7 separate regions of the Homo sapiens genome follow, and all the other regions are linked to region 6. The links are contacts of gene promoters, found by promoter capture Hi-C in blood cells and fetal thymus (Javierre and others, 2016). All regions are on one chromosome and are shown on one strand. The core of a region is centred on a gene start or on the middle of the fragment in contact, and the rest is flanking DNA. Distances in the headings are between cores, read along the strand shown. Region 1 has its middle 9.1 kb from the start of LHFPL3-AS2. Region 2 has its middle 38 kb from the start of SYPL1. Region 3 has its middle 13 kb from the start of SYPL1. Region 4 overlaps LHFPL3 (LHFPL tetraspan subfamily member 3). Region 5 overlaps LOC101927902 (a long non-coding RNA gene). Region 6 holds the start of PUS7 (pseudouridine synthase 7). Region 7 overlaps SYPL1 (synaptophysin like 1).

Evidence for each region. Contacts are between HindIII fragments. The CHiCAGO score rates a contact against its expected background, and 5 or more counts as called.
Region 1: a fragment that was not itself captured here is called in contact with the fragment with the promoter of PUS7 in region 6 in 4 of 17 cell types (naive CD8 T cells, total CD4 T cells, activated CD4 T cells and 1 more); the score reaches 5.7 in naive CD8 T cells.
Region 2: a contact is called between a fragment that was not itself captured here and the fragment with the promoter of PUS7 in region 6, in 1 of 17 cell types (naive CD8 T cells). The highest score is 5.3, in naive CD8 T cells.
Region 3: a contact is called between a fragment that was not itself captured here and the fragment with the promoter of PUS7 in region 6, in 1 of 17 cell types (naive B cells). The highest score is 5.1, in naive B cells.
Region 4: a contact is called between a fragment that was not itself captured here and the fragment with the promoter of PUS7 in region 6, in 1 of 17 cell types (total CD4 T cells). The highest score is 6.6, in total CD4 T cells.
Region 5: a fragment that was not itself captured here is called in contact with the fragment with the promoter of PUS7 in region 6 in 6 of 17 cell types (neutrophils, total CD4 T cells, fetal thymus and 3 more); the score reaches 9.1 in neutrophils.
Region 7: a fragment that was not itself captured here is called in contact with the fragment with the promoter of PUS7 in region 6 in 1 of 17 cell types (fetal thymus); the score reaches 5.1 in fetal thymus.

The regions. Positions count from the first base shown.
Region 1 is chr7:104,933,578-104,937,863 of GRCh38, forward strand. No RefSeq gene overlaps it. Among named protein-coding and RNA genes, the nearest start is that of LHFPL3-AS2, 9.1 kb to the left of the region's middle. RefSeq lists a silencer at 1,470-1,634. The HindIII fragment of the contact is 3,456 bases long and covers 1-3,307 here.
Region 2 is chr7:106,072,174-106,076,440 of GRCh38, forward strand. No RefSeq gene overlaps it. Among named protein-coding and RNA genes, the nearest start is that of SYPL1, 38 kb to the right of the region's middle. RefSeq lists an enhancer at 1-204. The HindIII fragment of the contact is 1,079 bases long and covers 1,357-2,435 here.
Region 3 is chr7:106,123,583-106,127,838 of GRCh38, forward strand. It overlaps the pseudogene DCAF13P1. Among named protein-coding and RNA genes, the nearest start is that of SYPL1, 13 kb to the left of the region's middle. The HindIII fragment of the contact is 479 bases long and covers 2,537-3,015 here.
Region 4 is chr7:104,880,145-104,884,362 of GRCh38, forward strand. All of the region lies in intron 2 of LHFPL3 (LHFPL tetraspan subfamily member 3), which reads left to right. Among named protein-coding and RNA genes, the nearest start is that of LHFPL3-AS2, 44 kb to the right of the region's middle. The HindIII fragment of the contact is 3,473 bases long and covers 1-3,230 here.
Region 5 is chr7:104,959,911-104,963,767 of GRCh38, forward strand. LOC101927902 (a long non-coding RNA gene) reads left to right here. Exons shown (of 2, transcript NR_187679.1): 2 at 2,074-2,424. Among named protein-coding and RNA genes, the nearest start is that of LINC01004, 29 kb to the right of the region's middle. RefSeq lists an enhancer at 1,444-1,513. The HindIII fragment of the contact is 1,381 bases long and covers 838-2,218 here.
Region 6 is chr7:105,519,754-105,523,808 of GRCh38, forward strand. It overlaps PUS7 (pseudouridine synthase 7), which reads right to left and starts at 2,518. Exons shown (of 16, transcript NM_019042.5): 1 at 2,299-2,518. RefSeq lists enhancers at 413-1,030, 1,345-1,999, 3,283-3,783 and silencers at 1,542-1,687, 1,897-2,646. The HindIII fragment of the contact is 10,027 bases long and covers 1-4,055 here.
Region 7 is chr7:106,102,740-106,106,543 of GRCh38, forward strand. The region is part of intron 1 of SYPL1 (synaptophysin like 1); the gene reads right to left. Among named protein-coding and RNA genes, the nearest start is that of SYPL1, 7.7 kb to the right of the region's middle. The HindIII fragment of the contact is 750 bases long and covers 1,933-2,682 here.

The DNA.
Region 1 (4,286 bases), core at 330-2,829, 590 kb before region 6:
CTGAAATGAAGTTGCAGATGTATATTACTACATGTTTCTCATCACCTCCTCCTCCTTAGTCTCGTGAAAGGGATATAACTTTAAGGCCCTTCCCTTTCTCATTTCCTCATTGTGACATCAAGAACACCCTTGAGACCATACTGTGCCTTTAAATGATTAAATGCGTTTAATTTAAATGATACAGCTTCCAAGGGAAAAAGGAACAAGGGGCAAGGGGAGGGGAAGGGGAGAGGTCACTCCTGCTTTCGGCAATTGAAGGGACTGACTGCCAGCCTCTCCCCTCCGCAGGGAGTGTTCCAGCAGCCACGCCCCTGACTCACCTGCCTCATTCTCTTAATGGTACCCACCCTCTCCAAATCTCTTAATGGTACCCACCCTCTCCAAATTGCCCAGACTGGGAAACCTGAAACCATCTTTGTCTTCTCTTTCTTTTTCCCCTCATTCCTAAACATCTATTTCGTTGTCAAGTTCTGTGGGATTTTTCTTTTTCTTTTCTTTTTTTTTTTTTTTTTTGAGACACAGTCTTGCTCTTTTGCCCAGGCTGGAGCATGATGGCACAATCTCGACTCACTACAACCTCCCTCCTCCTCCCCAGTTCAAGTGATTCTCATGGCTCAGCCTCCCGAGTAGCTGGGATTACAGGAGCGTGCCACCACGCCCAGCTAATTTTTGTATTTTTAGTAGAGACGGGGTTTCACCATGGTGGCCAGGCTGGTCTCCAACTCCTAACCTCAAGTGATCCGCCCACCTCGGCCTCCCAAAGTGCTGGGATTACAGGTGTGAGCCACCGCACCCAGCCTTGGGTTCTTTCTTTTCAAACACTTTCCCACACCCCCATTCCTCCCTTTCCATTTCCATAGCAACTACCCTGAGGCCTTTACCTCTCACATTTGAACTGTCAGAGCCTCCTGTTTACACTTTCCCACCCACCTTCTCCTTAATTCCTCCTAGCCCATTCTTACCAATGGGATTCATATCCTTGACAGATGATTTGCTTTGTTGCCCTCCTACTACAAAACTCTCAAGGGATGCCCTTTGCCTATCAAAGGCCACTTCTTTGGCCTGGCAGGAAAAGCCATCACATCATTTGGCTGTGTCCTGCTCTCCTACCCTTTTCTCACCCTGGCTGCTTCTGTCCACCTCCCAGACATTCAAGTGATTTAGTCTTCCGTGGAATGCCCGCCTGTCCCTGGAATTCTACACCTGGAATGCCCAGCCATTCTCATCTTTACTTTTGGAATCAGAAGGACTATTCAAAGCAAATCTCCATAAATCTGTCACTTATCTTGCAACCACAAGAAAGCACTCTCTCGACTATATCTTTGTTCTTTGTACCTTTCACCCTGTATTTTATTATCTGGTTAAAGTGCTATTGGAGCCGGGCACGGTGGCTCACACCTGTTATCCCAGAACTTTGGGAGGCAAAGGCGGGTGGATCACTAGGTCAGGAGTTCAAGACCAGCCTGGCCAAGATGGTGAAACCCCGCCTCTACAAAAAATACAAAAATTAGCCAGGTGTGTTGGCGGGTGCCTGTAATCCCAGCTACTCAGGAGGCTGAGGCAGAGGATTGCTTGAACCCAGGAGGCGGAGGTTGCAGTGAGCCAAGATTGTGCTACTGCACTCCGGCCTGGGCAACAGAGCGAGACTCCGTCTCAAAAAAAAAGAAAAGAAAAGAAAAGAAAAGTCCTATTGGATTACAATTCCTAGGGCACAAAGGCTGAGTTTTGTTGGTCACTGTACTGCCTGTAGCTCCAGAAAATTCTGAATTTATGTGAGCTCCACTAAGCAATTATTTCTATCAAATACTACTAGCCCAGAAGCCTCAGAAGTTCACCCACTTCCTGAATTCCCAGTGATGACAGAGTGGACATTTACCCTTGCAGAAGGAGGCTAGACTGTTGTCATAGGTAGAATTATGACCCCAGCAAAATTCTGTGTTAAAGTCTTAACCCCTAGTACCTCAGCATATGACATCTAGAGGCCAAGGAAAAAGTTCCCTTTTGCCCTCTCAAGTTTCACTGACAACTCAACTCATTGAAAGGCAGGTTAACTGGAGAAAAGCAACACACATTTATTTAACATGTATGCACAGGAGTCATCACAATGAAGACCCAAAGATGCAGGGGAAATTGTCCATTTTTATGCTTAGTTTAATAAAGTATGGACAACCGTGTAGAAATATGATTGGACCTAAAGGGGATCTACTGCTAATAGACTGAGGGGGGAAACCCAGCAAGGCCTCTCTGTCTAGATTCTTCTTGGCCTCCCTGAGCCGGCATTCCTTCTGGGTGTGGGGCAGGACTCTCCCTGGAATGGGGGTCTTATGACTATAATCAAGCAAGGTAGGTCAGATAATTTCTTTCATTTTTTCTTTTTTTGAGACAGGGTCTCATTCTCTCACCCAGGCTGGAGTACAGTGGTGCAATCTCGGCTCACTATAACCTCCACCTGGAATTGGTTGCTTCTGAGGCCTTCATTTTGGGTTGCTGTTTTCTGAGCCCTGACATACCTTATTCGGAGATGAGATCTTTACCAAGGTAATTAGGTTAAAATGAGGAGCAACCAAAGTTCTTCTCTGAATCCCATCTCTAATCCAATTTGACTGATGTTTTTATAAAAAGGGAACATTTGGACAGAAACCAACATGGATGGAGAGAAGATGATGTGAAGACACAAAAGGAAGGTTGTCTACAAGCTAAGGAGTGCAGGAGGCTACCAGAAGCTAGAGAGAGGTCTCCAATAGATGCTTCCTCACAGATCTCAGAAGGAATCAGCCCTGCCAAAGACGTGACTTTCAGACTTCTAGCCTCCAGAGCTACAAGACAATATACTTCTGTTGTTCTAAGCCACCTAGTTTGTGGTGCTTTGGTAAGGCAGCCACAGCATACTACACAGCTGGAGTCCTGAGAAGCCAGAGGGCCTCCAAAGTGAACCCCATCTCAGGGCTGGGGCCACAGGTCCTGGGAGGGCAAAGGTAAGGCTCTGAGATGCCCTGAGCAGAAGAACAGAGGCACTTACGGCTCCAATGAGCCAAGCGGAATGGCTGGTCAGCCACACAGGGCGTGGGCCAGTAGTTGGTCCACCTGACACAGGCCTTTGAAGACAGCGTTTTGTTTCTGCAAGTGGGCAGGGGAGGGTGGCATGGAGACAGGGGCAGGAAACTCTGCTGAAGGGCAGACCGTTCTTCCAGGCCCCAGGTGCTTCCGGCCAGACTCTTTTAAAGAGACATGGAAGGACATCATCAAACGTGGCAGCGTAGCCAAGCTCTGCCCTGGAAACCCCTCTCTAGTTACTGCTTTCCACTGAAGCTTCTGGTGCCTGCTGCCTCCTCAGTGGGAGGGACCAGTGATGTGAAAATCCTTTTCCTCCTGACTCAAAGGAGCATTTCCTGAACCCTCCTTACTCAAAACATGTCCACTTGCCCCCCGGAGCCCCAACAGACATGCTAATTCTATTGGGATTTATTTGATAGAATTGGATTAGCTAACAGTGTCAGGGTTCCCAATGAGCAGACAGGAAAACTAAGGCAGGGCCAAGGGGCCCAGCGTCCATGTAACAGTAACTACCATGGTAATAGGGAACACTATGAGCCAGGCCTTGCTCTAAGGCTGCGCTGCCCATTATGGCAACCACTGGCCACGTGTAGTTACTGGACACTTGAATGTGGCTAGTCCAAACTGAGTTATGTAGTAAATGTAAAAATACACACTGAAATTTAAGGACTTAGTATGAAAAAAGAATATTAAAATATCATTAATTTTTTTTAACTTTTATTTTAGGTTCAGAGGTATGTGCGCAGGTTTGTTATATAGGTAAACTCGTGTCATGGGGGTTTGTCGTACAGATTATTTTGTCACCCAGGTATTAAGCCCAGTACCCAATAGTTATTTTTTTCTGCTCCTTTCTCTCCTCCCACCCTTCATTCTGAAGTAGGCACCATTGTCTGTTGTTCCCTTCTTTGTGTCCATGAGTTCTCATCATTTAGCTCCCACTTATAAGTGAGAATATTCGGTATTTGGTTTTCTGTTCCTGCATTAGTTTCCTAAGGATTATGGCCTCCAGCTCCACCATGTTCCCACAAGAGACATGATCTTGTTCTTTTTTATGGCTGCATAGTATTCCATGGAATATATGTACCACATTTTCTTTTTCCAGTGTATCATTGATGGGCATTTAGGTTGATGCCATGTATTGCTATTGTGAATAGTGCTGCAAATTCTCGTTAATATTTTAGAAATATTGATTACGGGCTGGGCGCGGTGGCTCACACCACTGGTAATCCCAG
Region 2 (4,267 bases), core at 646-3,145, 550 kb after region 6:
AACAGAGCATAGCAGCAGGTTACAGAGATCATTTATTTTCCCGCTGATGACAGACATGAGCTCTGGCCCAGGGCCCAAACTTCTTATCCTTGAAAAACACATTTTACAGATTGCCGGCAGAGACAGCCAACCCAGATTAAGCTGCCAGACCTAACTATTTTAGATCTTCCTCCTACTCCTCTGGAAAAAAAAAATATAAGATAACGATTTTTGTCCCTGAAAAACAATGAGAGGAACTAAAGGAAAGCCCGGGCTCTATTCTTAGGGGTCTGCTGCCCTCCAGAAAGCCCAGCGTACAACTTCAGGCAGGCCCATGACACGCCAAGTGTTTGCATTTTGGAAGAATCCTAATAGAATTCCTTCAAGTGGCAGATTCCTGAGGACATTTCAGGATTTATTTACAGATCGTTAACTTACTTGTCACAGAAACCGAAGGGCAGGGAAATTTTGAGCTGACATTTTGGAATGCCACCCTCAAAGGGTGATCAACCAGAAATAAAGATAAAGTGCCTTTGAAATGATAAATATGAAGTAATGGGGACAAGGATTTGTTTCATAGGCACCGTTTCAGAAAAACATCTCTAATGTAAAGTGAAGCCCAGAAGTATATTTTACCTGCTCTTCACTGACTATGTAATTAATGTTTCAGTGACTGACAATTCTCACTTATCACCATAAATTTTTTTCTAGAAATTGCCACATAAATTGGAGCATCATAAAACAGGTTTCTGCAAACTGGTTTGTATGTTTTTTATCATAATAATGAGGTTATAGCCGGGTGCATTGGCTCACGCCTGTAATCCCAGCACTTTGGGAAGCTGAGGTGGGTGGATCACCTGATGTTAGGAGTTTGAGACCAGCCTGGCTAACATGGTGAAACCCTGTCTCTACTGAAAATACAAAAATTAGCCAGGCGTGGTGGCTTGCGCCTGTAATCCCAGCTACTTAGGAGGCGGAGGCAGGAGAATTGCTTGAATCCAGGAGGCAGAGGTTGCAGTGAGCTAAGATCTTGCCATTGCACTCCAGCCTAGGCAACAAGACTGAAACTTCCTCTCAAAACAAACAAACAAACAAACAAACAAATAATGAAGTTATAAATTTGGACTTACATTCTGGGTTAGGGACTTGACATCAAGCACATCAGATATGATTTGATAATTTCTGTCAGGAATGCAATAATAAAATAGCTCTAAACTCCGTGGTCATTATAAATAGTAAACTCATGCTCCAAGCACTATAAAATGGGCATGGGCGCACTGTCTGCATCCCACTGGTTTCCTGTTACCCCACCTGCTGCCTCTTGCTTGACCATGGGCTGTTGATGGAAACTGAGGACTAAACTTATAAGGCCCACCAAGCTTATCTTGCCTTGCTTGCTTTTAGCCGCTTGCTTCTAGCTGATTTTAAAATCCATATAGCTAAATAATATATATCTGCCAGTAGCTTCCTTATAGTTAACAACTCTAAGGCATTGCTCACCATGGTAACAGTTGTTTTTCAGGAAGTGGGGGTCAGTCCTTGTCCACTTCAAACCAGCTGAGACCACCAGCCCTTCAACTGGACCTGTGTGAATGTCCAGTTGATATGGACAGGAGACAGGGAAATACTGGGTAGAAGAGGGTGGTTCCCTGGCAAAGGCCCCACCCTAAAGCCTGGAAACCTGCAGCCTGGAATGAGAACAAGCATTCCTGTTTTCATGCCCAAATGTTGCCTTTTGGTCTGGAACGCCCCCTATCCTGTAGTCATATAAACCCTAAGCCCCAGGCTCTACAAGCAGATGAGCAGACAAACAGAAGAGCAGAAGAGCTGCAGAACGGCGTGGCAGAGAAGGAGAGTAAAGAAGGAGCATCTGAACATCAAGAGGAGTTTGGCTGGGGCAGTCAGGGAGGAGAGATAGGCCATTGGACAGCCAAACTCCAGGGAAAGGTCATTTTCCCACTCCATCCGCTTTCCGGCTCCCTGCTGACAGCCACCTCCACCACTCAATAAAACCCCCACATTCACCATCCTTCAAGTCTGTGTGTGATCTGATTCTCCCTGGACACTGGACAAGAATCCAGGTACCAAGACGGCACTGAGCTGTTTAACATTTAAGCCATCTGCGGATGGCAGAGCTAAAAGAGGACTGTAGCTCATCCACTGGGGCTTCAGGAGTTGCAGGCTCCTACCCCTAGACACCACTGGTGGGCCGGTGCCCAAAAGCGCTCACCCTGATTCCTGCACCTGCCTGCGTGCTCCCTCTCCCGTAAAGGGTTTGAGCACACACAGTGGCTGAACAGACGAGCCACACCCTTGTTGCATGTCCTGCAAGGAGGTTCAGGGAAACCTCCCGTTTCACAGTGGGTGACCTTTTGATGTTGGAGGGCCAAAAACTCCACCCTCAGATCACGCTAATGATCTCATTTTGTTAACGTGCATCCTGTTAAGAGCCATGAAGCTTGACTACACTTGTGCAGGTCACTCATTGCCTTGTTTTCCCTTACTCCAGTCACCTTTCCCCATGCCTCGGACCGCCTTGCTACTCTACCCCATAAATATCCATAAAGCCTCTTCTACGGGGAGGCAGACCTGAGAGGCATTCTCTAGCTGCTCACTTAGCTGCCTCAAGAATAAAATCTTTTCTCCACTGCCAAACTCATCATCTCAGTGATTGGTTTACTGTGTAATGGGCAGAATGTGCCTGGCCACTAACATGCTCACATCTACTTTCTCAATACACTAACTCTGAGGTAAGGAAGGCATATCTTAGTTCCCGAGTTCAACAGATGGGGAAACTGAAGTTCAGGAATACTTCAGCTTTGGAAGCACGGCAGAGACTTAGCAAACAGGTTTTCTTTCAGTGCTTAAGTCCTCACTTTCCAATCTCTGTAGCCCTGCTCGTGACACAGTGGACATTGTGCATTTGCTTGTCTCACATCTAAGGGAACACTGATTTACTTATTTATTTTGAGACAGGATCTCAGTCTGTCACCCAGGCTGGAGTGCAGTGGCACAATCATGGCTTGCTGCAGCATCAACCTCCTGGACTCAAGTGATCCTCCTGCCTCAGTCTCCCGAGTAGCTGGGACTATAGGTACATGCCACTATACCTGGCTAATTTTTTTTTTTTTTTTTTTTTTTGAGACGGAGTCTCACTCTGTCGCCCAGGCTGGAGTGCAGTGGCACCACGTTGGCTCACTGCAACCTCCGTCTCCTGGGTTCAAGCAATTCTCCGGCCTCAGCCTCCTGAGTAGCTGGGATTGCAGGTGCCCACCACCACACCTGGCTAATTTTTATATTTTTAGTAGAGATGGGGTTTCACCATGTTGGCCAGGTTGGTCTTGAACTCCTGACCTCAGGTGAGCCGCCCACCTCGGCCTCCAAAGTGCTAGGATTACAGGCGTTAGCCACCACGCCCGGACTACCTGCTTAATTTTTTGATTTTTTTTTTGTAAAGACAGTGTCTTACTTTGTTGCCCAGGCTCAAGTAATGCCCACTCCTTGGCCTCCAGAAGTGATGGGATTATAGGCGTGAGCCACCGTACCCGGCCTGGGATGCTACTCTAAATGCACATTCATTCTAGCTCCCAAACTACTTTTTTTTCGCTATTTCTAAATCAAAATGCTTTTCGACATTGCTATGTGGAAACTGTGGGTTTTATAAAGTTATAAAGAATAGTTTAATAAGAAATTACACCCAAGAAAAGTATAAAACACATTACAATATAAATGTGACCTGGCACTTAGAATAAACATTTGCTTTGCAATACTCTCATTTGTTTTTTTCCTAGAATTTAAATGAGACTTTTTTGGAACCAGATTTTTAAAATAAACAAATGAACAACTGTCCCTAAGAAACCTTAGCTGACACCTTTTTTGTTTCTGTCTTAAAGTTCCCAGCCAAGGTTTTCAAAATCTTTCCCCTGACCTCAGAACTGCTGGAAGTGGTGCAGTGCTGACTGACAGTTTGTTGACAAGAGAGGCAACACTTCACACTTCACTGGAAAGCATAAAAGCGTGCTCCAGGTCATTAACTGAGACTTTTAAGAGGAACTGCTTGCTGCATTATGATAGTGGGATTCAGGAACATTTCTTTGCAATTCGTACAGTTTTGTTGTTTTTTCACAAAATGGAATTCAAATGCACAGAATGCAATTAATAAAAATTCTTGATTCATGGCACACTATCATCATTGGCCCGTGAATGGCCTTATTTTACTTTATATCACATTTAGTAATGAACACCTGGTAAAACCAAGGCCCAACCAAGAACTAGAATATCACCACCA
Region 3 (4,256 bases), core at 1,526-4,025, 600 kb after region 6:
TAGGTGGGATTACAGGTGTGTGCCACCACACCTGGCTAATTTTTGTATTTTTAGTAGAGATGGGGTTTCACTATGTTGGTCAGGCTGGTCTTGAATTCATGACCTCAGGTGATCCATCCACCTCAGCCTCCCAAAGTGTTGGGATTACAGGCGTGAGCCACCACACTCGGCCTGCTTGTGAATGTTGTTTATGTTTCATGGGCTTGTATTTTTTTATACTTTCCACCCATTCGAATTTTTTAAAGTGATAAACATTTGTCATTAATTGTCTTACAAGCTCAATAAATTGGTCTTTGCTTTCTGACGCAATTTGTTATTGTTGCTATTTTCCTTGAGGGAAAAGCAAGGTTTCTGTGTTTGTATTTAAACCCCTCTGCTTTCTTATTTTTCTTTGTTGATTTTTTCCTCTCCTAGTATGACCAATGGTGAGAAGCCTGAGTTTATTGATTTTGACTAGGAATTTACTGACTTTGACTTTGTAATCAAGGCAGGTGACCACCTTTTTGATGAGGCCTGAGAGAATAAGAAAAGTCCCAATCACCCCACCACCCACCTACGGAAATATATATACACCCCATGCCACTGTCACACTGACCCTGAAATGCCATCATAATACATTCTCTATCTTAGGCTAACGGCTTCATGTTCTAAAATACAAATACCCTGGAGAATTACTGGATTAAATGGTCTATTACAGCATAATGCTTCAATGAGAAATTATCTGAATATTTTTCTCCTGGCAGTAAAAAATAAAATAATGGGAGTTTTAATGGGAGTAGAGCAAGAAAGAGATAGTCTTGGAATCTGGGCACCATCCCAGGAAGACAGACTTAACTAAAGGGAAAAGTTCTAGGCTGCCAAAGAGCTGTAAAAGGGATAGTGAATGCCTGGGAAGTATGATGGAGAAGCTGCTCAGTATTGAAAAAAAGGAAAATGCAAAGCAGAGCTAAGGCAACTTGGATTTATGATACAAGTTAGCTTGGGGAAGACTGAACTCTTAGTATCTTTCATTTCATTATTTGCCAATCATTTGAGAAGAAAAACCTGAACATTTCATACATTCCTTCTAGCATTTACTGATCACTCATATGTACTGGACACTTTGTTAAGTGCTGATCATACAAAGTAGACCTCAAAGAGTTTATTTTAAAGGGAGAGATAGGGCTGGGCGCAGTGGCTCATGCCTGTAATCCCAACACTTTGGAAGGCCAAGGCAGGTGGATTGCTTGAGCTCTGTAGTTTGAGTCCAGCCTGGGCAACATGGTGAAACCCCATCTCTACAAAAAATACAAAAATTAGCTGGGTGTGGTGGCCTGAGCTTGTAGTCCTAGCTACTTGGGAGGCTGAAGTGGGAGGATGGCTTGAGCCCAGGAGGTGGAGGTTGCAGTGAGCCAAGATCACACCACTGCACTCCAGCCTGCGTGACAGACCCAGGCCCTGTCTCAATAGAATAGAATAAAATAAAATAAAATAAAATAAAATAAAGGGAAAGATAGGACAAAAACTATATATATTTTCAAGTTGTGATAAGTGCAGTGAAGAACACAAAACGTGCTTTTTATATATATTTTTTTGTTTTCTGCTTTACAATTAGATTGCCCTGCAAAATCTATGGCAAAACAGAGAAAAATTGGTAAGGGCTGCAGTCTTCATAATCTACATAAAAACTATGATTGACTCAGGTCCTGTAGGAGGAAATTTCTGGGGATAATCCTGTGACACTCTCAGTACTCTTTGAAATTCTATAGAGCAAAGAGCTTGTGGAGTCTGGCAGGAAGAGCAACGAAGGTGAAGGTGAAGACATTGAGCTGGAATCCGGACAACTATGTCCGCAAAACCAAGTTGGACTTACAGATTATTCCAAGAAACTGTGATCCTACCTTACATCCTTTTGAGGTCCTGCAAGAATGTGTAAGAGTTTTAAATGCTACCAAACTGGAAGGAGTATTTGCAAAACCATGCCTGGCTTGGCTGGATGGTCACGAGATGGAGTGAGTTGCTTGGCAAAGCATCCAAAGATCCTGGCTACTCTCCTTTCTAGGGGATGTGATGGAGCAGTTAGAATTTGGAACCTGACTCAGCTGAAATGTATCCGTATAATACAAGCACATGAAGGTTTTGTACAGGGAATACGTGCTCACTTTTGTGGGACTTCTTTTTTCACTGTTGGTGATGACAAAACTGTGAAGCAGTGGAAAATGGATGGGCCAGGCTACGGAGAGGAGGAAGGGCCATTACATACAATATTAGGAAAGACAGTGTATACTGGGATTGATCATCACTGGAAAGAAGCTGTTTTTGCCACATGTGGACAGCAAGTAGACATTTGGGATGAACAAATAACTAATCCTATAAGTTCAATGACCTGGAGATTTGACAGTATAAGTAGTGGTAAATTTAATGCAATTGAGACATTTATCTTGGGAAGTTGTGCTTCCGACAGGACTACAGTACTGTATGATATGAGGCAAGCTACTCCTCTGAAAAAGGTTATCTTAGATATGAGAACAAATACAGTCTGTTGAAACCCTATGGAAGCTTTCATTTTTATGGCAGCAAATGATGATTATAACTTATTTACTTTTGATATGCGTGCACTCATGTAATGGTCCATATGGATCATGTATCTGCAGTGCTTGATGTGGATTACTCTCCCACTGGGAAAGAGTTTGTGTCTGCTAGTTTCAATAAATCTATTTGAATCTTTCCTGTAGATAAAAGTCAAAGCAGGGAGGTATATCACACAAAGTGAAAGCAACATGTTATGTGTGTAAAATGGACTTCTGACAGCAAGTATATTATGTATGGATCTGATGAAATGAACAGTTACCTATGGAAAGCTAATGCTTCTGCAAAATTTGGTATGCTTACATCACAAGAAAAAGCAGCCAAGTATTATAACCAGAAACTGAAGGAGAAATTTCAGCGTCATCCTCATATACAACCGATAGCTCGTCATTGACATCTACCAAATTCTGTCTACAGCCCAATTCAGGAACAGTGCATCATGAAAGAAGCTTGTCGATGAGAGGAAGTGAATCACGTTAAACACAGCAAGCCTGGATCTGTGCCAATTGTGTCAGAGAAGAAGAAACACATAGTGGCAGTTGTAAAATAATATTTGGTATTCCTAACAATCCTGATGTATAATTAGTTGTTACTTTGATTTGAGAACTCTACAAATAAAAGTGCTGGGACTAGATTAATGGTAAACATTTCAGTTATGTATGTAGAGCTTTATTGTTGCTCCTTTTAGCTACCCTGATAAATGATTCTTAAAGGTGGCCTAGTTGATAAGACTGTCGTTTTATCCTTAATCTGTGTTCTTCTTTCATTGAAGGATACAGTACTTACAGTACTAGAAACTAACTCATTTTTTCCTGATTTTTTTTTTTTTTTTTTTTTTTTTTTAGACAGAGTCTTGCTCGGTCGCCTGAGCTGGAGTGCAGTGGCGCAATCTCGGCTCACTGCAACCTCCGTCTCCCAGGTTCAAGCAATTCTCCTGCCTCTGCCTCCCGAGTAGTTGGGACTACAAGTGCTAATTTTTGTGTTTTCAGTAGAGACAGGGTTTCACCATGTTGGTCAGGCTGGTCTTGAACTCCTGACCTCGTTATCCTCCCGCCTCGTCCTCCCAAAGTGCTGGGATTACAGGTGTGAGCCACTGCACCCAGCCATTTTTTCCTGCCTTTTGTTTTTGGAGATGGTGTCTCGCTCTTGTTGCCCAGGCTTGAGTGCAATGGTGCGATCTTGGCTCACTGCAACCTCCACCTCCTGGGTTCAAGCGATTCTCCTGCCTTAGCCTCCTGAGTAGCAGGCACCTGACACCATGTCAGGCTAATTTTTTTTTTCTTTTTTGTATTTTTAGTAGAGACAGGGTTTCATTATGTTGGCCAGGCTGGTCTCGAACTCCTGACCTCATGATCTGCCCGCCTTGGCCTCCCAAAGTGCTGGGATTACAGGCGTGAGCCACCATACCCGGCCTTTTTTCCTTTACAGATATACTTACTTTCTCTCTGATCTATTATTGTAGACACTGTACATTCAAATTGACATTTAAGACCCAACATTTCTTCTGATACCTTTAATATTACTTTGAAAATGATTGCAATGATGTTTCTTCCTATGATTCCACATAACATTTAGAAGAATGATGTCAACTGCTTATAACTGAATTTATTTCTAGTGCTTTATTTTTATTTGGCTTTTTGACTCTTTCAAAACAATCAACCTGCATTTATATAACTTTTATAAATAAT
Region 4 (4,218 bases), core at 244-2,743, 640 kb before region 6:
GCCTTAGTGGGAGGTGTTTGAGTCATGGGGGTGGATCCCTCATGAATGGCCTGGTGCCCTCATGGTAATGAGTGAGTTCTTGCTCTAAGTTCACATGAGATCTGGTTGTTTAAAAGAGTGTGGCACTTCCCCCCTCCCTCTCTCATCATGTGATACATTGGCTCCCCCTTTACCTTCCACCAAGATTGGAAGCCTCCTGAGGCCTCATCAGGAGGAGATGCTGCTGCCATGCTTGTACAGCCTGCAGAACCATGAGCCAAATAAATCTCTTTCTGCATAAATTACCCTGCCTCAGTTACTCCTTTATAGCAACACAAACGGAATAATACAGGGGCTGATACAGCTGGGGACTAAGTTGAAGCCAGTGCTCATTTACCATTCTGAAAATCTTAGGGTCCTTACAGATTATTCTAAATCTACTCTGCCTGAGCTCTAGAAATGGAACAACAAAGCCTGGGTGACAGCACATCTCTTTACAGCATGGTTTACTTAATATTTTAAGCCCACTGTTGAGACCTACTGCTGAGAAAAAAAAAAAAAGATTCCTTTCAAAAAAATTTTCTTTCAAAATATTACTGTTCATTGACAATGCAGCTGGTCACCCAAGAGCTGTAATGGAGGTATATAAAAAAATAATAGTAATGTTGTTTTCATGCCAGTTAATCCAATGTCCATTCTGCAGCCCATGGATCAAGGAGAGTAATTTCTACTTTCAAGTCTTATTATTTAAGAAATACTTTGTGTGGCCAGGCGCGGTGGCTCATGCCTGTAATCCCAGCACTTTGGGAGGCCAAGGCGGGTGAATCACGAGGTCAGGAGATCAAGACCTTCCTGGCTAACACAATGAAACCCCATCTCTACTGAAAATACAAAATATTAGCCGGGCGTGCTAGCAGGCACCTGTAGTCCCAGCTACTTGGGAGGCTGAGGCAGGAGAATGGCGTGAACCTGGGAGGCGGAGCTTGCAGTGAGCCGGGATAGCACCACTGCACTCCAGCCTGGGCAACAGAGTGAGATTCCATCTCAAAAAAAAAAAAAAAAAAAAGAAATACTTTTTGTAAGGCTATTGCTGCCATAGATAGTGTTTCCCCTAATGGATCTCAGCAATGTGAATTGAAAACCTTCTGGAAAGTATTCTTCAATCTAGATGTCATTAAGAACTTTTGTGATTCATAGAAGTTAATAAAAATTCAAAGTTAATAGAATTTATAAAAATATCAACATTAACAAGAGTTTGGAAGAAGTTGACTCCAGCCTTCAAGGATGACTTTGAGTCTTGACTTGATTTCAAGACTTCCGTGGAGGAAGTAATGCAGATGTGGTGGAAATAGCAAGAGAACTAGAATTAGAAGTGGAGCCTGAAGATGGGACTGAATTGCTGCCATCTCATGATAAAATTCAAATACATGAGGAGTTGCTTCTTATGAATGAACAAAGAAAGTGGTTTCTTGAGATGGAACCTACTCCTGCTGAAGTTGCTGTGAACATCATTGAAGTGACAACAAAGTATTTCAAATTTTACATAAACTTAGTTGATAAAGCAGCAGCAGGGTTTGAGAAGACGCACTTCCATTTTGAAAGAAGTCATATTGTGACTAAAATGCTATCAAACAGCATCACGTGCTATAGAAAAATCTTCCATGAAAGGAAACTTCCTTGTGGTCTTATTTTAGAAATTCCACAGCCACCTCAGCCTTCAGCAGCCACCACCCTCATCAGTCAGCCGCCATCAACATGGAGGCAGGACACCTCCATGTTTACCAGCAAAAATTCGTTCATTAATTTATTTTTAAATTAAGTATGTATATTTTTTAGATGTAATGCTACTGCGCACTTACCAGTCTACAGGATGCTATAAACATAGCTTTTGCACTGGGAAACGAAAACTTCTGTCTTTATTGTGATATTCACTTTATTGCAGTGGTCTGGAACCAAACCCTCAATATCTCCAAGGTATGCATTTATATATCCACACAGAATACTATTTGGCAATAAAAAAGGATGAAGTACTGACACATGCTACCATATGGATGAACCTTGAAAACATTAGGCTAACTGAAAGAATCCAACCACTAAGCACTACATTTCATTTATTTATTTATTTACTTATTTATTTATTTAGAGATGGAGTCTCACTCTGTCACCCAGACTGGAGTGCAGTGGCATGATCTCAGCTCACTGCAGCCTTCACCTCCCAGGTTCCAGCGATTCTCCCGCCTCAGCCTCCCAAGTAGCTGAGATTACAGGCACACACCACCACACCCAGCTAATTTTTGTATTTTTAGTAGAGACAAGGTTTCATCATGTTGGCCAGGCTAGTCTCAAACTCCTGACCTCAGATGATCTGCCCACCTTGGCCTCCCAAAGTGCTGGGATTACAGGCGTGAGCCACTGTGCCCAGCCTGTACCACATTTCATTTATATGAAATGTCCAGAATGGAAACATCCATAGAGACAGAAAGTATCTTAGTGGTATCCAGGGCCTGAGGGGAGTGGAGAATGGTGAGTGACTGACAGTAGGTATGGGGTTTTCATGGTGATGAAAATATTCTAAAATTAGATAGTGGTGATAGTTGTACAACTCTATAGGTATACTAAAATCACCGAATTGTATACTTTTAAGAGGTGTTTTATGATATGTGAATTATGTCTCAATAAAGCTGTTATTTTTAAAAGTTTCTCTCCCACAAGACTTCCTAGTGGGAAATAAATCCTGAAGATGGGGGAAGGGTATGATTTATATTGTAGTTAAGGCGACTGGCTGCCTCATTTGCCTGGGACTGAAGGCATTCCCGCATGTAGAACTTTCAGTGCTAAAACCAGAAAAGTCCTGAGCAAACCACGCAATGTTTGAGACTTACTTATACTAAAAAACTGTCAATGTTTATCGGAAATTTAACTAGGCATTCTGTATTTTTATTTGCTAAATCTGGCAACTCTATGATGATCCAATTTATTCAGATCAAGTTGAAACAAAGAGCTAGAATTAAGAGAAAAAGCAAAGAGAAACTAAAAGAGTTTGGAGTTAAGGAAAAGAGCTCCCAAAGCATTTTCTAACCTTGGCCAAGACTATGGCAAGATAGTTTTGCCGAGATCTCTTTTCATAACATTCTAACGTTCCCTCATTTCCAAAGTATGTATCAAAGAGTTCATATTGGAGGACTCTTAAAAACTGATATTAATAGTTACATGAAATAATATGTTTCTTAAAGGTATTTCATCTTGGATGAAGCTTAAATTAAGCTTCCTCCTGGCAGCTGAGTGCATGATGAATTGTATTATAAGTAAGTCTATTTTTAGCCCACTAGTGCATTGGCAGACAGGCTGTTAAAAATAAAAGCAGGCCTAGTAGAATACAGAAGCCCGGGGAGCTTTTCCTTACTATTTAATGAAAATGAAGCGGGTTCTCTGAGCCTATATGGTTGGAGGGAAGGTGAGGTGTGTGCAGCTGTGATCAGGTTACAAGGCAGTGGCTTGTAATTTATAAATTAGTGTGTAACGTGTCACTGAGGCAGAAGCTGAGGGACGTAGCACTAACGGGAGTTTCCTGAAATTGCTCAGATAATGGGAGAAAAGAGTTTGCGTGTCTGATCAGGTGGGAAGTGTGATATTTTAAGAATCTTCCATATTTCCCTGCTGGGGAGCTAGGACTCAGTTCATTGCTTGTTCTTGCCTGGACGCCGCACACCAGGTTAGCAGCCACCAGGGGGCACCAAAGCAGCCCATCCCAGAGGAAAGCGTGGGCCTCTGAGCCATTGAAATTCACTCCTGAGCACACTTCCCTTTGAGCCCGCATAACCTGATGATGGTGCAGATTCAGCAGTGCAACACGTGGTTGGGGCGTGTGGATATGGAATCACACAGACAAGGCTTCTGGGTCTAGCCCTGCCTCGTAAAACTTTTACAGCCTCTGTAATCCCCAAACAGAGATAATAAGAAGTGGTAAGAATTCAATGAGCTGGAAAGCTCATTAATACCTATACCGTGCCTGATGCGTGATAAGTGCCCAAGTCTTCGGTACACGCCAGAAGCCTGGGGTTGTAGGGTGGGTTCAAGTACTAACAACATCACGGAGAAGGCATCTGCTTCCATTCCCTTCTATTCTGGGCTCTCTTCCCCCTTCCTCTTTCCTTCCACTTCGTTCTCTGTTTAGTTCAAAGGCCTTTGTTTTGGCAGCTTGCCAAGCATGTCCTCCTGAGATAGGCCCTCTGACCGCTC
Region 5 (3,857 bases), core at 278-2,777, 560 kb before region 6:
GAAATACCTAATGCATGCGGGGCTTAAAACCTAGATGACGGGTTGATGGGTGCAGCAAACCACCATGGCACATGTATACCTATGTAACAAACCTGCACGTTCTGCACATGTATCCCAGAACTTAAAGTATAATAATAATAATAATAATAATCCAGAGCAATTCCCTCCTGCCCTGTCTGAGATTTGATGTAAAAAATGCGTCTTCCAGGCTGGGCACGGTGGCTCACGCCTGTAATTCCAGCACTTTGGGAGGCCGAGGCAGGCGGATCATGAGGTCAGGAGATTGAGACCATCCTGGCTAAGATGGTGAAACCCCGTCTCTACTAAAAATACAAAAAAATTAGCTGAGTGTGGTGGCAGGTGCCGGTAGTCCCAGCTACTCGGGAGGCCGAGGCAGGAGAATGGCGTGAACCCGGGAGGCAGAGCTTGCAGTGAGCCAAGATGGTGCCACTGTACTCCAGCCTGGGCGACAGAGCGAGACTCCATCTCAAAAAAACCAAAAATAAATAAATAAAATAATGAAAATTTAAAAATGCTTCTTCCGGCCAGGCGCGGTGGCTCACGCCTGTAATCCCAACACTTTCGGAGGCCGAGGCAGGCGGATCACCTGAGGTCAGGAGTTCAAGACCAACCTGGCCAACATGCCAAAACCCCATCTCTACTAAAAATACAAAAATTAGCAGGGCATGGTGGCGGGCGCCGGCAGTCCCAGCTACTTGGGAGGCTGAGGCAGGAGAATGGTGTGAACCTGGGAAGCAGAGCTTGCAGTGAGCCTAGATCATGCCACTGCACTCCAGCCTGGGTGACAGAACAAGACTCTGTCTCAAAAAAAAAGAAAGCTTCTTCTAGGGAGGTTTAGTCTCAGGCTGGCTCTCCAGGCCCAGAAGGGGTCATCTCAAATTTCTGCTCTTTGTGGACAGAGCTAATCAAATACTTTTTGGGTAGGGACAGCAGACATTGCCATATTCAGCTTCTTGAAGCTCCTTCAGACAGTGGAAGCTGGACCTTGAAGCTCCCCTAACAAATAATGTAGCAATTGTTGAGAGTCCTCATGGTCATGGGATAATGCTTGGCAGTCAACAGGGGCTCACATTCTGAAATAAGTAACGCCAACATGGTCATGCTTACTGAAAACTGTAAACTACTTTGAAGCATACAGAAATGTGTATTCTGAAATAAGAGACAGGCTGATAAAAGAGGAAAAGAAAAAGGGGTTTGCTTGGTTCTTAAGAGACAGGGATGGGAGTTCCCTGTAAGCAGAGTTGCACAAGAGATGGTATGGAGGCAGAAAAGAGGAAGCAGGGAGCAAGGCAAGGCCAAAGTCAACTGAAACAGGAAAACTAGCCAGAAAGCACATTGCTTGCTCTTTGAAGACATTTCCTTCAAGTTCTGCCTTGCCCCAAAACCTAACCCAGGCCAGGGTGGTGAGCGCTCTCACCTCTGAGCCTCTGACACATGGACTGCATGTACTGCTATTGCTCCTTGGCATATGGCCCAATTTTCTGAAATCATAAGCATTTCTGTGCAACCATCCTGTCACTCCAGTTAAATTTCAAGACAGATTTTTTTTTTGAATAGTATATCCTTAGTGGAAGAAATAGGAACCATTTTATTTTATTCATTTATTTTTTTTGAGACGGAGTCTTGCTCTGTCACCCAGGCTGTAGTGGAATGGCGCGATCTTGGCTCACTGTAACTTCTGCCTCCTGGGTTCAAGCCATTCTTCTGCCTCAGCCTCCTGAGTAGCTGGGATTACAGGCGCCCGCTACCACACCCAGCTAATTTTTTTTTGTATATTTAGTAGAGACGGGGTTTTGCCATATTGGCCAGTCTAGTCTCGAACTCCTAACTTCAGGTGATCCACCCACCTCAGCCTACCAAATTGCAGGGATTACAGGCGTCAGCCACCGCGCCCGGCTCCAGACTGGGTTTTTTAGCAAAGAAGGAATTAATACAGGGAAGTTGGTGCTCATGAAATAGTTGAAAGTACTGAAGGAATAAGCATGTAGGCTGGGGCCTTCTGGAATGTCTACCTGAATGCCACAGAACTGACCCTCATTTCCCTCCCTCCAGAAGCTACAACCTCAGCCCAGATTAGCAGGCTGAGGGGTCAGGAGGCTGTCACTGGAGCTGTTGAGCTCATGAACACGCCGAAGTTGCTGCGCTCCAGAAATGTGGAAGTTGGAATGAAGAGCCACCACTGCTGCCACCAACATGAAGCTTGACCAAGCAAGCCAAGAAAAGATGGCCAAGAGCCTCTGCCTTCCTTCTGCCTTCTGCAACGCAATGGTGAGCTGCACATCCACAACTTGAAGGGAGTCTGGGAAATGCAGAGTTAAACTTTCTAGCCTCTCTAAGCTTTCAACTGTTACAGAAAGGCAACCCAGGAGGAGACTGGAATAAATGCTGAGTGCCAATTTCCAACACAAGTAGTCATTATAATTGGGGTGAGTGTTATCTTGCCCTGGCTCAGGGGTAATCTTGTGTTGGTTCTGTTCATCCCCACCAAAATCAAGTGCAGGGCTTATTCTCCCTTCCCTAACCATCAGGTCACTAGGGGTCCAGGGCCTCACCTTCCTTCTCAAGAGTTAATGAGCATTCCAGGATGTTGTAAGGAAGGACTGTCCATATGGAATAGGGAGGACACAAACCCAACATTTTGCTCTGACTGTTAGCCAATAAACAATGTCCTGGTTGTTGCTTGCTGTCAGGCATAAGTCCTCACTAGACACCTACCAGAAGGCAACTAACCCAATGGTCTGGCATAGGCAAAGGGGCTTACTAAAATGTAGGCTGGCACTCACTTCTAGCCCTCTCCTCCTGTCCCCACCACCTCTCTGTCTTATCACTTCCCTTCTATCTCCCCTCCTCCCTCAGCCTAGAGAATATTTTTCTAACTTAGGTAAGGAGCTTTGCTGTTATTCCTGATGTTTTCTCCTAAATCTTTTACCAGTTTGTTCTCTCCAGTTCACTAAGGATCTAGACCAGTGGTTTTCAATCTGCAGCCTACATCTGAGTCACCTGGAGGGCCTGTTAAAACACAGAACGTGGAGCCCAACCCCCAGAGGTGCTGATTCAGTAGGTCTGGGGTAGGGCCCAAGAATTTCCCTTTCTAACGAGTATCCAGGTGATGCTGATGTGGTCTGGAGACCATACTTTGAGAACCACCGGCCCAGGCTTTTGAAACTGAAAAACTTTGCTTTCTGCTTGTAAGACCCATCTCTTAGATAGGAGCAAAGAATGGTTTGTCTGTTCAAATGGGGAGATGGAATAGAAGAAAAAAAATCTAGAAGAAAAAAATCAAAATCAATGTTTTAAAAATAGTATTCTAGCATTCAGTAGTAATAATATAACCCCTTTGCTATGCCTTTAATATCTGGAAGAGAGAAGCTTGAGTACTTGCAAAATCTTGCCCCTGGATGGTGCAAAATAATGTCTCATTTTCCTCTTGAGTCTTTTGTCTTTGCCAAATCTATCTTAGAGGACAAAAAGGAGCAAGTCCTTCCTCCCTGCTTTCCTCTGTCTCCTCTTCTCTTTCCTCATGATGCTTCGGTCTCTTCTGTTATCCCTTGGCTCACCCCTCAGTCTTGATTTTTCTCACTCTGTGTTCCTAGCTGTCAGTCACGTGGACCTAATCCAGTGTTCTCCCAAGTAGAGGGGCTTAAGCTACTACTTTCAGGCTGTGCTGAGTGATATACATACAATGCCTCATTGACAATCCTGAAGGATGGTATTTTGCTTCTCATTTCACAGATGAGGAAACAGATGCTCAGAGAGATCACACTGCTAGGAATTGGTGAATCCAGAATTTGAGTCCAGTTTGTTTAGCTCCCAGTCCCAGGTCCTTCCCACATGTT
Region 6 (4,055 bases), core at 1,268-3,767:
GAATTAAAACAGGGTAAGGGGCTGAGAGTAAGAGGGGTGTTCTTCAGTGATGCCTCGTCTAAGGAGGAGACTTCTGAGCAAAGACAAGGAAGAACCAGACAGGAAAAGATGTGTGTGAGGAGAGCTCCAGGCAGCCCGAACAGCACGTGTAAAGGACCTGAAACCGGAGCAAACTTAGTCGACAGTATGACCAGCTGGATTGTTCTCTCTCTCTCCTAGGTAAGGAAAAACGCTGCTTCATTAATACAGTACATGCATGCCCCTGCCTCTATCAAAAGACACGTTCAAGGCCGGGTGTGATGGCACACGCCTGTAATCCCAGCACTTCGGAAGGCTGAGGCGGGTGGATCACCTGAAGTCTGAAGTTCAAGACCAGCCTGGCCAACATGGTGAAACCCCGTCTCTACTAAAAATACAAAAATTAGGCGGGGCGCGGTGGCTCACGCCTGTAATCCCAGCACTTTGGGAGGCAGAGGCGGGCAGATCATGAGGTCAGGAAATCGAGACCATCCTGGCTAACACAGTGAAACCCCGCCTCTACTAAAAATATAAAAAATTAGCCGGGCGTGGTGGCGGGCGCCTGTAGTCCCAGCTACTCGGGAGGCTGAGGCAGGAGAATGGCGTGAACCCGGGAGGCGGAGCCTGCAGTGAGCCGAGATCGCGCCACTGCAATACATCTCCAGCCCTCAAGCTGGGTGAATGCTTAACGAGTGGATGGAGGTGCTGCCTCTGCAATACATGTGGGCGACAGAGCGAGACTGTCTCAAAATAAATAAATAAATAAATAAATAAATAAATAAATAAATAAAAATACAAAAATTAGCTGGGCATGGTGGCGTGCACATGTAATCCCAGCTACTCCGGAGGCTGAGGCAGGAGAATCGCTTGAACCCAGGAGGCTGAGGTTGCAGTGAGCCAAGATCGTGCCATTGCACTCCAGCCTGGGTGATGGAGTGAGACTCCGTCTAAAAAAAATAAATCAAAAAACAAAGATATGTTCAAGGCCGAGTGTGGTTGCTCAAGCCTGTAATTCCAGCACTTTGGGAGGTCAAAGCAGGAGGATTGCTTAAGGTCAGGAGTTTGAGGCCAGGCTGGGCAACACAGCGAGACCCTGTGTGGTGGCACATGCCTATAGTCCCAGCTACTTGGGAGGCTGAGGTGAGAGGATTGCTTGAGCCCAGGAGTTCAAGGCTGCAGTGAGCGATGATCACGCAACTGCACTCCAGCCTGGGCAACAAGAGCAAAATTCTGTCTCAAAAAAATTAAAAAAATAAAAATAAAAAAACCAAAAACATGTTCACAAGGAGTTGTTAAGTACGTACTGTTGGCTACTTTCCTAATGTTTGAACCTAACAATTGCCTAACCAACCCCTTTTCAATAGTGTTGTACAGTCTGATTTTCGACAGATCCCTCAATAGTCGAGGCTCCCCCAGGCCAATGGGGCATAGTCATTTCATAGATGATTAGAGGCTTGGGGATGGGGGGGAGGGAACCTTAGTAACCCTTTATTTTTGGAATGGAAAAAAAAAGTAGTCTGACGGGACCAAATATTTTAAAAACTAAACTCTTTGCCAACCCTACTCGGCAGGCAACGAAGGTGTGCTTCTAAACACCTCTGCGCAGGGCTGACGAGGAGGACTCGAATTTCAGCTTGCACAGCAGCACCTCCATCCACTCGTTAAGCATTCACCCAGCTTGAGGGCTGGAGAAAGCACTCTGAGTCTGCAGCCCGTCCACTCCTACTCTGGGAAATGCATACAAAGCAAGCAGTCCCCAGAGCCCGCGTGGCGCCTAGTAGGCTCCCAGTGAGCGGCGACGCAGGACACAGGGGTGGAACACGTGGGCTGGACCCACAGAAGGCAGGCGCGGCGAAGCAGTGGCACCGTGAAGGGCTTCAGGGCCAGTGTTCCTCTGACGGAGGGACAAGAGTTTAGGGAGCGTCCGGGGCAAAGAAAGGGAGGAGTGGGAAGGGGGCCCCCGGGGGACAGCGCCGCGCGGGGAGGAGGGGAGCGCTCGGGCGCGGCGCCTCCGGACGACTGGCCGGGCAGAGCGGAGCGGGGAGCGGGGAGCGGAGAGCGGCGCCTGCACCGCCGAAGCGCAGGACCCACTGGGTTCCAACCGTGCTCCCGCTGGCACGATCCATAATGGAGGCGCCGCGGGCTCTGACCACTGCGGGGCCGCCTTCCCAGTCCGCCTTCCCAGTCCGCACTGCCTCTTGGGGCGGGGCCCTGGGGCTGGGGCTGGGGCCAGGGCCAGGCCGAGGAGCCCCGGCGGCCGCGGGGAGGCCGCGCACTTACCCGGAGCCTGGGAGCGCGGGCGCGGCGTGAGCTGGGCGGCGAGGTGGCCAGCGCTCTGGTTGGGACGCAAGAGAGCGGCGAAGGCCACTTGGATGAGCCAGCGGCTAGGGCGGCCAGGCAAAAGCAGCGCTTTCCGCGCGGAGGACCAGATGCGCTCCAGCCGACTCACCGGCGGCCGGGCTCGCACACGTGCGGCGCAGCGACGCGCCGCGGCCCGACTGGACCCGCCCCGGGGGCGGAGTCCGCTCCCTGCCGCCGGCCCCGCCCCCGGCCCACCCACTCGGAGCGGCCTGCAAGCCAGGGAGCGCCCCAACGCGGACTCCCAGCCTACGCGCGTTCACCCTGGACCTTCCTCGCGACCGCGCCTGAGTCGCACCAGCGGCAGAGAGCGATTTCACCAAGCATCTAAGAGTTCTTTAGATCTTTAGGAAGTCTAAGGCAGCGATTGCCTCCTTTGGTGTTATATTCTAAGTGTTTCCTTCACATAGTTGTGGCCCTTTCACGTTGCACCGACCACGCAGTTGACAATAATGGAAAGAGAATCACTTTAGGGACTAAATATTGTTCTACATTTGATCCTGGGAATGTAGTGGATCTAAAAGCACCATCTTCCTACTTCTTACCGCTCTGGCTTGATGGCTTGCCATAGGATCTGCTTCAAGAAACCGGATCATAGGTTTTTTTTGTTTTGGTTTGGTTTGGTTTTGACAGAGTCTCGCTCTGTCGCACAGGCTGGAGTGCGGTGGCGTGAACACAGTTCACTGCAGCCTCGACCTCCCAGGCTCAAGCAATCCTCCCACTTCAGTATCCCAAGTAGCTGGGACTACAGGTGCATCCCACCGCACCCAGGCTAATTTTTTTGGGGGTGGGGGGTAGAGACAAGATTTCACTATGTTGCCCAGGCTCTAATAGTTTTTTTGCTTTTTGTTTGTTTGTTTGTTTTTTGAGACGGAGTCTTGCTCTGTCGCCCAGGCTGGAGTGCAATGGCGCGATCGCTGCTCACCGCAACCTCCGCCACCCGGGTTCAAGCGATTCTCCTGCCTCAGCCTCCCGAGTAGCTGGGATTACTGGCGCACGCCACCATGCCCGGCTTATTTTTTGTATTTTTAGTAGAGTACGGGGTTTCACTATGTTGGCCAGGCTGGTCTCGAACTCTTGACTTCGTGATCCGCCCGCCTCCGCCTCTGTGTTGAGATTACAGGCGTGAGCCACCGCTCCCAGCCTCTAATAGTTTTTCCGTTTTGTTTTATTTTGTTTGAGAGAGAGTCTCACTCTGTTGCAGGGTTCAAGCGATTCTCCTGCATCAGCCTCCCGAGTAGCTGGGCCTACGAGTGCTTGACATCATGCCAGACTAATTTTTTTGACGGGGTTTTTGCCTGTTGGCCTTGAACTCCTGACCTCAAGTGATTTGCCTGCCTAGGCCTCCCAAAGTACTGGGATTATAGGCATGAGCCACCATGCCCTGCCCAATTTGTTTTTTTGTTTTGTTTTTTACACAATGAAATATACTATTACCGGCCGGGCGCAGTGGCTCACGCCTGTAATCCCAGCACTTTGGGAGGCCGAGGTGGGCGGATCATGAGGTCAGGAGTTTGAGACCAGCCTGGCCAACATGGTGAAACCCCGTCTCTACTAAAAATACAAAAAATTACCCAGACGTGGTGGCACGCGCCTGTAATCCCAGCTACTTGGGAGGCTGAGGCAGGAGAATCGCTTGAACTCAGGAGGCGGAGGTTGCAGTGAGCTGAGATCGCACC
Region 7 (3,804 bases), core at 1,058-3,557, 580 kb after region 6:
TCAACAGACCTTTGTTTTAAACTGCTAAGCTCGGCGTAATTTGTTATACAGCAATAGATAACTAATACAAGGAAGAGCTGTTCAGTAAATGGTCCAGATGAGCTGCACACAAAAGTAAAAAGTCTTTAAAAAATGTGAAGACAATATAAAAGAAAACCTGTGACCACATGAAAAGGGAGAATTTAAGATTTTTTTTTGTAAAAAAGAACCATAAAAGATTGTTAAATTCAACTACAGAAAAAAAATCTTAATCAAGTCAGCTGTTGAATGTAAAACAAGCTACCAATTAGATGAACATATTTATAATAAACATAATGTCACAAAGGATTTACTAGTATATAGATCTAAGAGAAACCCTTGCTCACACGTACTAAGAGACATATAAGAATGTTCATGAAAAATGGGGAGGGGAAAAGCAACAGGGAAATGGATAAAATACCATAGTATATTCTTACACTGGGAAGTTATACGGCAAAAAAGATATAAGAATTACAACTGCCTACATCAACATAGATGAATCATAGAAATCCAATGCTGAGTTAAAACAAAAACAAAATAAAAACCATGTTGCATATGACTACCTAGACTATAAAACCATTTTTTAAAAAGCTCTGTTTACCTGCCTACATTACACCTGCCACTATTTTTGTTCAGGCCCTCACCATTTTTCATTGGGACTAACCCAGCAGACTCTTTCTCACATTTCCAATTTCATTCCAATTGATACTCATCTTCTATAATGTGGGCACTATAGCTGCAGTACCCAGTAATGCTACTTGTGAGTCTTGAACACTTTACATGTCACTAATCTAAATTGATATATACTCCAACTGCAAAATACACACTAGATTTTGAAGATTTACTATGAAAAAGATGTGAAATACTTCATTAATTTTTATATTGACGACTTGTTCAAACAATAATCTGGATAGATTGGGTTAAGTAAAATATATTGTTAAAATTAATTTCACCTGTTTCCTCTTATTTTAGTGTGGTTAATAGAACACTGAAAATTACTATGTGGTTTGCATTTTTGCTTCCCATTGTATTTTTTTGTACTGGACAGAGCTAGTTTAGAATGATGCCAAACTGATCTGAAATAAAAATCTGATCATGTCCTTCCCATTTAAAGGAATTTCCTCAATTGTTTTTCAACCTAAATTAAACAAAAAATGCTCCAACTTCTTAATTTGGCATAAAAGGCATGGCTGATCGATCCTCAACTTTATCTTTCTAGATAGATTTATCTGCAGTCTATTCACTGCCAGGTACTGTATGATTCTGTCACATTATACTGCTTACTGTTCCTGAAACATACCATGTATTTATGTCTTAAATGTATATGCTTCTTCTTCTGGGAATGCCCTGTCTCTGATTAGCTCATCTTTTAAGGCCCTACCCAATTCCCTGTGGTAGAACTCATGATTCTTCTCTTGAGCTATCATAGACATTAACTCTATTATATATGAACTCTACTATAGGCATTTTTCTTGTGTAACTTGCTTTCTAAAAAATAAAATGGGGCCGGGTGCAGTGGCTTATGCCTGTAATTCCAACACTTTGGGAGGCCGTGGCAGGAGGATTGTTTGAGCCCAGAAGTTCAATACCAGCTTGGGCAACACAGTGAGACCCTGTCTTAAAAATAAAATAAAATAAAAAAATTAAATGGAAAAATGAATTTCCTAATATAACAAGTAGCAAATAAATGGCATACTGCACTACAGCTTGTTGCTTTCAAGACTATCACTTCTACTGCTCCTTTGCCAGACTGTCATGTCTTTGCACCTGGTTTTGTTTAGGATTTTCAGTGACTAGCAGAAAACCTGGCACATAGCAGATGCTCACTAAATAACTACTTAATTAAGGAAAAAATAATTTCCAATAACTTATAAATAAAACCATATTTTGAATCTTACATAATTATTATTTTAAAGCTTTTTGTTATAAGGATAGATAAATATCATGACAGCAATTCTGGTCTTTATCTTATAGAAAGAAGGGACAAAAGCACATATTTTATATTAAACAAAGTACAAAATTATGAGGGCAAAATATCCAACTATCTCACTTCTCCCTATATTCTACTGCTATTTTGATCTAGACTGGAAGTTATATACTGGCAGCCTGTTGGTAAAACCCGGCCTGCAAATATATTTGTGTGGCCTTTCCAGTATTACAAAAAAATGTGAATTTGTTGTCATTGTTTTAATATCAGGGTATTACACATAAAAATTTGGATTTCCTGCTTTTCCTGAGTGTGTATGGGAAAGCTGAAGAATGGCAACATCAGACCTACATTCTCATAAAGCAACAATCAGAGAGAACTGAGTGACAGATGTCACTTATGGCAGAGTATGTGCTTTCCAGGTTATCCGCTTCTCCATTGTCTTAACAGCCCTCAGGATGTGTGTTAGTTGCCAGTAAGTAATCAATGACATACTATTCTTTTTCTTCCAAACATCTTGCTTCACTCATTTACTTTAGAGGGTGGTTCCTATGACCATTTCAGTTTCCAACCCTAGTCTAAAATGAAGGAGTACTGGTGTTCTGATTTATATTTTCTGGCCACTTTTGAAACTTATTTTCCCATATACTCCTACCCCATGAAGAATGACTGAAACTACTGACATGGAATTCTATCTGCACAGTGACTAGTAAGAATCCAGGGGCGGGGTGACAGCAAGCTTCTGTTTAGTCAGAAAAGTTACATGTTCACATACAGCCCCAAGTATCCAGAGAAACAGTCCCACTTACTTCTCTGCCCACCAGACCCATACTAGATGACCACCATGGCAGATCTTATTCAGAGAATTGTAACCTCAGGGTGAATAGTACAGCCTGGTTTTCCAGAGCACTAGTCTCCAAAGTAGACTGGAGTACCAGAAGAAAATATGTAAACTTCTATTTAGATCTACTTTCAGACTTAAATAAGGAATTGAAGCTTTATTGCAATTAATATACCACTGAAACCCATGCTGGGCATGCACATCAGAAGGTCACATGTCAGTACAGCATGCTGGGTATCCTGAAGGTAAGGGGAATCTCATACATGGAAGGACAGACAGTGATAACCTCATCTATTCTTTCACTTTTAGTGTTCATGCATTACAATGTGAGTGGGCCTGGATTTATGGAATAATTTGTCTAGTTTTAACCAAATCAACCTTCACAAAATTGACCCATGGCTTTAAAATGTCTTCAAAGAAATAGATTGGTAACACACACACTCATGTATAAAAGAGAAAATGGAAGCATTCATACTACTCTATGATTACAATCAACAGCCATATTACAAGGTAAAAACAGACTACTTAATCAGATCACAAGACGGTGGCACAACAATAAAAAATTATCAGAATAGTATCTGAAGCAAGGATTTAAAAATATAAACAAAATTTGCACTGAGTATATAATATACCTTAAGATACTAACTGACATAGTAAAACATGCATCTTAAGTTGTAGATGCATATTGTGGCTCTGTCCATAAAATTTTGCACTAATAGGAGTGCAAAAAAGACTCTGGAGGCTGGGCACAGTGGCTCATGCCTGTAATCCCAGCACTTTGGGAGGCTGAGCCGGGTGGATCACCTGAGGTCAGGTGTTCGAAACCAGCCTGGCCAACATGGTGAAACCCCATCTCTACTAAAAATATCAAAAAAAATTAGCTGGGTGTGGTGGTGGGCACCTGTAATCCCAGCTACTTGGGAGGCTGAGGCAGGAGAATTGCTTGAACCTGGGAGGCGGAAGTTGCAGTGAGCCGAGATCATGCCACTGCACTCCAGCCTGGGCGACAGAGTAAGAC